3 separate regions of the Homo sapiens genome follow, and regions 1 and 2 are each linked to region 3. Evidence: promoter capture Hi-C in 16 types of primary human blood cells and fetal thymus (Javierre and others, 2016). All regions are on one chromosome and are shown on one strand. Each heading gives the region's core, a stretch centred on a gene start or on the middle of the fragment in contact. The rest is flanking DNA. Distances are from core to core; before and after follow the strand shown. Region 1 overlaps CYBRD1 (cytochrome b reductase 1). Region 2 overlaps DYNC1I2 (dynein cytoplasmic 1 intermediate chain 2). Region 3 holds the start of RAPGEF4 (Rap guanine nucleotide exchange factor 4).

Region 1 (2,700 bases), core at 199-2,698, 1.2 Mb after region 3:
GAAGCCATAATTATTTTGGGAAATTTCAATCACTGTTTTGGAATTGATACCTAAGGCTTTCTTCTCCCCTATTATTTATGGGCTTTTTAATGAGATATTTTTCTCGGGAGATGCTTAGGTAGGAAATATCAGCTTTTGAAAGATAAAGGTACAATTATCATTAGAATCAAAAGCCCATTAAATAAGAGTCTCAAACAAAGGTTTTCTAGATATATTTTATATACGTTGTTTTCATAAAGATAGAAAAGAAATTCCTATAATATCTGTAAGATTATCCTCACATTAGCCCACATGAAAGATAAAATAAAGGGCTGAGATGGGGGGTGCTTAAATACTTTGCAACAGTGCTATTCTAGTGCCAAAGCCATAATTAACTTTTCACTGATAACCTGTTTCTTAGCCTATACAAAAAGGAATGGCCACCTCAATTCTGGCGGCTTAGTCACTATCTAATCCCTTCCTCCAAAAACCCTGGAATTTTGTGTTCCTCTATGTAATGGAACATCCAACTTATCAAATGATGTGTGACTATGCAACTACTCCTTCTATGGCACCAAGACTGTACCATGCTCCACCCATACTGAATTTAATTGTGCTACCACTTTGTGCCAGGCAGAGGGCTGGGTACTGGGGATCCTTCTGGCTCTATTACCAATTTTGGAAATAGAATTTAGTAGAGAAGAAGAGAACAGTGTTGCAGCAAGGGGATCTTGAATGGTTTTTCATGAAGTTTAAGGGATATGATGGAGTGTGGCTTGTATTCAGTCTTTGGAAGTAAGTACCAGTTACCTAAAAAGAAATCCACTAAGCACCAAAATGTTTAGTGTATTTGGTGTAGAGTTTCTACCCATATTAAAATGCTTCAGTTTAAAATTGAAGGGAAGGCAAAAAAATCAACCAAAAAATGAAAAGTATCATTTCAGCATAAGCACTACTCTAGGTTTTAATTTGTCAGCCCAGATCCCAGACAGAGATGATACTCCAAACATGAAAAGTCACCTCCAAGTCTCAATTCACTACTGAGAACCCAAAGCTCAAAATATCCCCTAAAATTCCATAAAAATCAGGAAAGACCCTAGCTATTGCCCCAGGGAAGGGCAGACCATGAGACAGGTCTCTTTTAGCTCCAAACTGAAAGTTGTTCAGCAGCTAAAATCCTGAAGAAAAAAATATTGCAATTAATTAACTTGAAAGCTACAGATATGCCTGTCCAAATCTTTTGTTACCAAGACACAATTTTAAGATCAAACAAGTGTCAAGGTAGGCCATGGCTTGTTGGCAGTAGTAGGGGCCCTATGGCCTATTTCCAGGTATGGGTGGCCCCTTTTCCTTGGTTATCTGGGGAATCTGCCACAGCAAACAGCAAAAGGTAAAAAGCATCCCTTTAATAACTACACCCCACTCCAGCAATTGAGGTTTATTCAGGGGTGGGTCAAAGTAGTACAAGACAAAAATAGCTTAGTGAAATGGTTAGAATCCAGACTGAGGTGCCAGACTGCCTGCATCTGAGTCTCAGTCCCACCATGTATGAGCCGTGTGACCTTGGGGTGAGTTACTAGCCTCCCCAGGCTTCAAATCTCTCACCTGTAAAATGGGAACAGTAACAATACCTACTTCATCCCGTCTGTCTGGGGACTGAATGAGCTAATATGTGTAAAGTGCTTAGAGGAGTGTTTGGAGCATAGTAAGTGCTGTGTGAGTACTTTCAAAAATAAAAACAAGAACTTGGGGAAAAGTGCTCTCTGAGGTTTGTAGGGCAGTGTATGCTACTTAAGTGTTGAAGCATATTTTCATTCTAAGAAGTTTAGCATCTGGATCATAAAGTACATCAACCCTAGGGAAGTCTTGGGGCTAACTTCAGTTTTGGAAATTCTTCCAAGTCTGACCAGAGAAGATCTCTTCAACCACCTGCTCTAATCTATCAATACCCTAACATAAACCCTAGTCTCCAGGGACAATTTGAGCCCAAACCAGCTGGGGAGGGAGCAGAAGGCAGGCATGGGGAGAAAGGAACCAGGTGCTTTCCTAAATTTCTTTAATATACTCTCATCATGGTATCTGTGTAGAGTCATGATCTAAACCCTGTCCCAGATATTCCTTATCGGATTTTAAACTTTTAGGACTGCTTCCCGCTAGTTGTGAAATCATTGTCTCCCAGAATTAACAGGAAATGACTGCATGACAACAGGCCAGGGATGCTGCCAGTTTATCCAATTAACTACTAGTAGACACATATTCACATATTGAGTATCTATTCTGCACAAGGCACCGTGCTAATGTTGTGGTCCTCAACAAGATAAAGGTAACATAACCACAATTTATATCTGCTATTATTTATATTAATCACATCCTTTCCAATTCAGGTCAGTTCATAGGCCTCAATCAATACAAATTATTTCAAGAAACCATCCTTTGTGATTAAAGTAAATATTGATACTACATAGCCCAATTATCATATGGCTAATAGGAGAAGCAAAACTGTAGAGCTAGTTTTGAAACGTGACGTTATATGGCTCTATCTCTACAACATTTTACATGGTAGATCTCTGCCCAGCCTCATCCAGAGCTAAGTTTCTTTTCCTTGCTGCTACTTCACTGTTTAACTCTGAATCTGATTTGTCCATGTTGTTGCCAGAGTAGGCTGGCATGGAACCTCTTGCTCCCTGTTCAGTGCCTCCATTTGGATGAAGAATGGTAGAA
Region 2 (2,700 bases), core at 53-2,552, 1.0 Mb after region 3:
ATTATCTAACAAGAACAAATACTTTAAAAAATATTAACTATTTGTTTTTGTGTTTTACAATTTATCATTAAAAAAACTATGCTTCACACTAAACATAGCACACTACCCTTAGGGCTTTCCAATAAAGTCAACAGTATCTTTAAATTAATGATGTAATCACTACAATGTAAATTCTATGAAAGCAAGGACCATGAATGTTTTATCTTCTGTGGTAAACCATAGTATTTTAATAAAGTTGGTAACTTAATATTTGTTCTATACATGAATAAATATTTTTCTTACCATTATTACTCCCTGTATTAATTTACAATATTCTAAAAGGTCTCTAATAATCTCTGGGTTGTCCATAAAACTCATGGGGACATGTTTTAATTCACATTAATTTAAAAAACTTAAGTGTCAAAGTACTTTTGAAAGCAAACTTGCTGACACTGAATTAAAATAATCTACTATTCAAAATCAGGAACGATGAGTCATAATGTACACAGTATAGTATCTACATAAAAATAATGTATAATATCAAATAAAGACATTTAATAAATATAGTAATTTTTAATCTTGGGAAACATTTTTACTATGGTAATGTTGTAGAAGGGAAAAAAAAACGCTTTCACTTAAAAATGCCAGTTGATTATTAATTGTCTAAAGGAATAGTGGCTGGGTGCAGTGGCTCATGCCTATAATCCCAGCACGTTCGGAGGCCAAGGTGGGTGGATCACTTGAGTCTGGGAATTCGAGTCCAGCCTGGGCAATATGGCAAAACCCTGTCTCTATAAAAAATACAAAAATTAGCCAGGCATGATGGTGCGTGCCTGCAGTCCCAGCTACTCGGGAGGCTGATGTGGGAGGATCGTTTGAGCCCAGGAGGCAGAGGTTGCAGTGAGCCAAGATTGCGCCACTGCCCTCCAGTCTGGGTGACAGAGACCCTGTCTGCAAAAAAAATAAAAAATAAAGGAATAATGACATATTTGTATAAAAATATAGAAGCACAAAATATGAAAAAAAATTTTAACCCTATAAAAATGAATTTACACTAGACAAATTGTCTTTATTCTGTAATGCATACTATTTTATAAGGTAATAACATTATTTCTAAAAAGAAAATTTTGATTTTCCTTAAATGAAAGAGTTATGTCATTTTCCTCCAAAGATAGTATAGCTTAGATTTGTGATTTTGGTTCTATTTGGAAAGCACTTCTCAAATTCAAGCTGGCAAGCTTTATGTGCCTTTTAATTGTTAATGATAACCTGATTATTCAAGAGCTGATTGAAGTATTGAGTTTACAGATCATCCAGCCACCTTGCTTTTTTTTTCTTGCCCTGTCTTTTAGATATTTATTACTGGTTTGTAACTTCAACTAGAGGGACTCAGGCATAAAAAGCTTAAAACTTCTAACAGCTTATGTCTTATTAAAAGGTGTGTTAAGAGATTTTCTTGGTGAGGACATGCAACTTCCTGGCCCAAAATAAGCATTCTTAATCAGCTGTGGATTTTGACTACCTATGTTTAATTTCATTTCAGAAGTCAAAAAGTACATTTAATACTCACTATTTTGTGTGTGTGTGTGTGTGTGTGTGTGAGAGAGACAAAGAGGAATAAGTAGTAATACTTTTCCCAATATGATCTTTGAAAGAAAGCTGAAATCTTACTGAACTTTTGAAAAGCAAGTCCCAACATGTATGCAGGATCCTAAAACAAACACGAAATGTAATTTTACAAGGAAGATGCAAGTTCAGGAATGCTTGACAGTAAACATTCTCAATGTTGTCCTTAGCAGTTATTCCTTACTCTTGACATTTTATGCATTATTATTCTCTATCTTAATTAGCAGAACTAATGACTTAATAGAACAGAATTGAACTGTTTAACAGAATTGTTTACATTTTCAATTACTGAATGGGGAATCAAGCACAAGAGAGAGGTTTTACACTATTTACACCCAAAACATTCACGTAATAACCAACAAAAAGTTTAAACAGAAAAATCTAAAAGCATTAATATCTCTATTTTTAATATAAAATAATTAGCATAAAACCGGTTGACTATTTAGTACTAAGTTAATTAAATGTGACAGTTAAAATATTATTAAAAAAAAACAAAGAAACCTTTTTTTTCTCCCAGTGTCCAACAGAGAATTTCTATGCCATTTTAGATTTTAAAATGTTAGGACTAACTCGACACAACTATTTAGAGTCCCTTTAAAGTATCAACAGTATTTGGGCACTGAATGCATTCTATCATTAAAACATTAAAAGGAAAATTACTGTACCTAGATCCCACGGCGCCATCTCCAGAGTCTTGGCTTCCAGCTTCACTTGGAGTGCTCACAGATTTGGAGGATGGAGACATAGGAGGAGGGACTAAATAGTGAAATAGACAGGTATCCGCTGTTACTACACGGAGAGGTTGCTCAGCTTATGACGTTTCAAAAATAATTTAATGAAGTAATTAACAAAAAAGAAAAAAACAATGGCAAACCAAAAATCAAAAATATATGAATGAAAATGAACAGCAGAAAGAAAGGGGAAAAGACAAAAAGTTAACAATGCATGCTGAAGATTCATGCAATTTTTCTGGCAAAATGCATTTGAGCTTTATAATTTTTTTAAAAAGGCAAGATTATGGAAGGATGCATCTTCATCTCATCCATCACCAAATGTGGCCACTAATTTTCAAAGGAGAGCATTCCTTCTCCCCCT
Region 3 (2,700 bases), core at 168-2,667:
TTGCATGCAACTCTTTTAATATTAGTACATATCATTTTAGACATAAATAGGGCACTACCTGCCAAAAAATCTTGCTACTGAGTGGTAATTGAAAGTCAAGATTATTTCTCAGATATATTAAGCTTTTCAAATGAGCTACATTTAGCTTTTCTCAAATTACTTAATATTTTTCAACAAAGGCCTATAATAGAGTATGCAAAGCACGTCACACTTAAGATTTTCAAGTTTGATCTGGTTACGAATCTGTTAATTGAAAATTTTTCAATATGGCAGAGCACAAAATATTTCACACAAATGCAAATAGAGATGTCATGCAGATAGCTGCAAGACGTGCATCATTGCCCTTCTGCATCAAACTCCGAAATTCAGAGGCAGTTCACTCTGCAAGATTTCTTGCTCAGTTCTTAAAAGTTCAGATGCATCACCTTTTAATCAGGGTAATAAGCTATAATTGCTAACATACTGTGTAACGTTTAAACCTGCAATCTGGACAAACAGAAAATTATGCTGTCACAGCCTGGAAACAACTGCAATCCACTGTTAACACACACATCCTCCTTAGAGAGAGCTGTCGTCGGGAGTTACATGCTTTATGGTTTTAATTATTTTTAGCGTAAAGATCTTTTCCCGAGAAGCAGGTATTAAGACGAAAGCAGCCTCCCAAATGACCTTCTCTAACACAGACCTTGAGCGAGCGACTGCGGGGGCAGAGAGCTGTGAATTTCAGCAAGGGATTCGACAGCTCCACCGGGTCCCTCACACTTTGCTTTCAAGAACAAAAAAAGAATGTTACTCTGCACCTGCCGGTGCCCCCACCCCTCTTTAAAACTTCATACCCCGCAAGGTCTGAATAGCCGGAAAGGGTATGCATCGATTCTTCTGTCCCGTGATGCCAAGAGAAAATAAACCCCCACCCAGGAGCGGAGCCTGGAGTCGCGGCAGGGCAGGGGGTTGGAGAGGTGGGTGCTCTCTCCCCTTACTGCGCTGCATTTTCTCCACCACGTGTAATAATCTCATGCCGCTGGCACCCCACGAGAGGCGGGGATCCTTGTCCTCCTGTCTCCCGGACGAGGACCTCAACCCCTTCCCCCGCTCGGGGACCCCGGCCACCCGCAGCCCGGCCGCGCTGCGCCCAGGTGCGGAGCTGCGGCGGTCTCAGGGCCCGGGCAGCACCGCAGAGCTCGGCCCCCGGCTGCGGCCCCCGGCGAGCTACCTTTTATCCAGGCAGGCGATCCACTCGGCAGAGGAGGAAGAATGGGCAGCGTGCGCAGCGACCATGTTGAGCGGCGGCGCGCGGTGTCCCTGGCTGCGGCGACCTCCCGCGCTCGCTCTGCCTGCGCCTCCGCCCCCGCCTCGTCCGCCGCGCGGACCCCGCTCCTCCCGGACGCCTGGCGACCAGCGCGGCTGCGACAGGCCCGCCCTCCCCGCGGGCTCCCGCGGCCTGGGGCGGTGGGGAGAGGGAGGGGACCCGGGGGGCGGGACGCGGGTGCGGGGAGGGCCGAGTCGCCCGCCCGCCCGCCGCTGCACTGCGGCGCCCGTGGGTGGGGATTCCGCCCCGGGGTGGGGACCCCGCGGTCCCGCTGCTGGGGGACACTGGGGGTGGCGACCCCGGTGGCCGGCCACCTGCGACAGGTGTCCGCTGCGTCCCTCGGAGACTGGGGCCCCACCCTCACCCCGGGGCCTCTGAGGCGGGGCGGGAGGGCAGGCGCCAAGGCAGAGTGGGGAGAGGGCTGCCAGTGTCTATATATTTTTCATACAGCAAATGCTACTAAAATGGCTGCTGCCTCTCTGTTTCCTTAGAAACCCATGAGTCTTCCTCAGCAGCTGTCGAAACTTGCCGGCGGTTGCTTGCTCACCTTTGCTGTCTCCCCTTCAGAAAAGGCTGGAGGGGAGGGCGAGGAAGGCTTGGCGTGGGGACGCCCGTCGAGTCTCTCAGTGAGGAATGAGAGGCCAGCTTCTCCTGCGGGGTGAGGAAGGGCTGGGCGCAATGGGGGGCAGTGCGGGCAGGGCTGAGGGGCAGGGAGGGAGGAGGCCGGTGGGCCCGATGTGGTCTGAGGGGGTGACAGGCTGAAGTCACTGGCCTTGAACCCTGGGCCTGCCTGGGCTTCCATCACCTGCATGGTGAAGAAAACACAGTTGAGAATGGGGAGTAGCCGGGCCACAGCAGAACCGAGACCCCGGACGCGCAGGTGAACTTGTATGGCTGGCCCCCTTGCTGTTCTTCCTCTGGCTGGAGTGTTGAATGGGTGGTGATAACGGCCTGTCTCTTGTAGATGTTCACACAAATGTCATGTCTACAAGTTATTCAGTTACACTCTGCCAAGAACCAAATTACACGCCAATGGTTGTTTAGGAATTTGCGGACAAGTTAAATGTTTTGGACTATTACCAAGCACTGTTTTGATATTTATGGCACTACATTTGGGGCCAGACAATGGGGGAAAGGGACATAGCATTGCTTTCTTCTACTGTTCCCTGCCTCCTCCCCCCACCAAACCTCCTATCCAACCCTGCTCAGGGGAGAGTCAGGGGGACTGGAGAGAAGGAAAGAGCAAGTGCTTTCTGGGATGCTTTGATCCTAATAAAACAATTATTACCATGATATAAAAGCCTCCAAATATGTGCCATTTCCCTCTGCTGGATAGCCAGGATCTAGTTTCAGACCTGCCACAGTGTTCCCACAGCAACTCCTCCCTCCCT

Evidence for each region. The method cuts DNA at HindIII sites, captures the fragments that hold promoters and counts their contacts. A CHiCAGO score of 5 or more calls a contact.
Region 1: a fragment that was not itself captured here is called in contact with the fragment with the promoter of RAPGEF4 in region 3 in 4 of 17 cell types (non-activated CD4 T cells, naive CD8 T cells, activated CD4 T cells and 1 more); the score reaches 6.7 in non-activated CD4 T cells.
Region 2: a contact is called between a fragment that was not itself captured here and the fragment with the promoter of RAPGEF4 in region 3, in 4 of 17 cell types (naive CD4 T cells, activated CD4 T cells, non-activated CD4 T cells and 1 more). The highest score is 9.2, in naive CD4 T cells.

The regions. Positions count from the first base shown.
Region 1 is chr2:171,554,659-171,557,358 of GRCh38, reverse strand. CYBRD1 (cytochrome b reductase 1) reads right to left here. Exons shown (of 4, transcript NM_024843.4): 4 at 1-2,700. The coding sequence ends at 2,532. Among named protein-coding and RNA genes, the nearest start is that of CYBRD1, 34 kb to the right of the region's middle. The HindIII fragment of the contact is 3,012 bases long and covers 1-2,700 here.
Region 2 is chr2:171,706,948-171,709,647 of GRCh38, reverse strand. DYNC1I2 (dynein cytoplasmic 1 intermediate chain 2) reads right to left here. Exons shown (of 18, transcript NM_001378.3): 5 at 2,271-2,361. Among named protein-coding and RNA genes, the nearest start is that of DYNC1I2, 21 kb to the right of the region's middle. The HindIII fragment of the contact is 165 bases long and covers 1,220-1,384 here.
Region 3 is chr2:172,734,562-172,737,261 of GRCh38, reverse strand. RAPGEF4 (Rap guanine nucleotide exchange factor 4) reads right to left here and starts at 1,417. Exons shown (of 31, transcript NM_007023.4): 1 at 1,214-1,417. The coding sequence starts at 1,278. RAPGEF4-AS1 (RAPGEF4 antisense RNA 1) reads left to right here and starts at 1,056. Exons shown (of 4, transcript NR_026995.1): 1 at 1,056-1,136; 2 at 1,801-1,967. The HindIII fragment of the contact is 2,798 bases long and covers 125-2,700 here.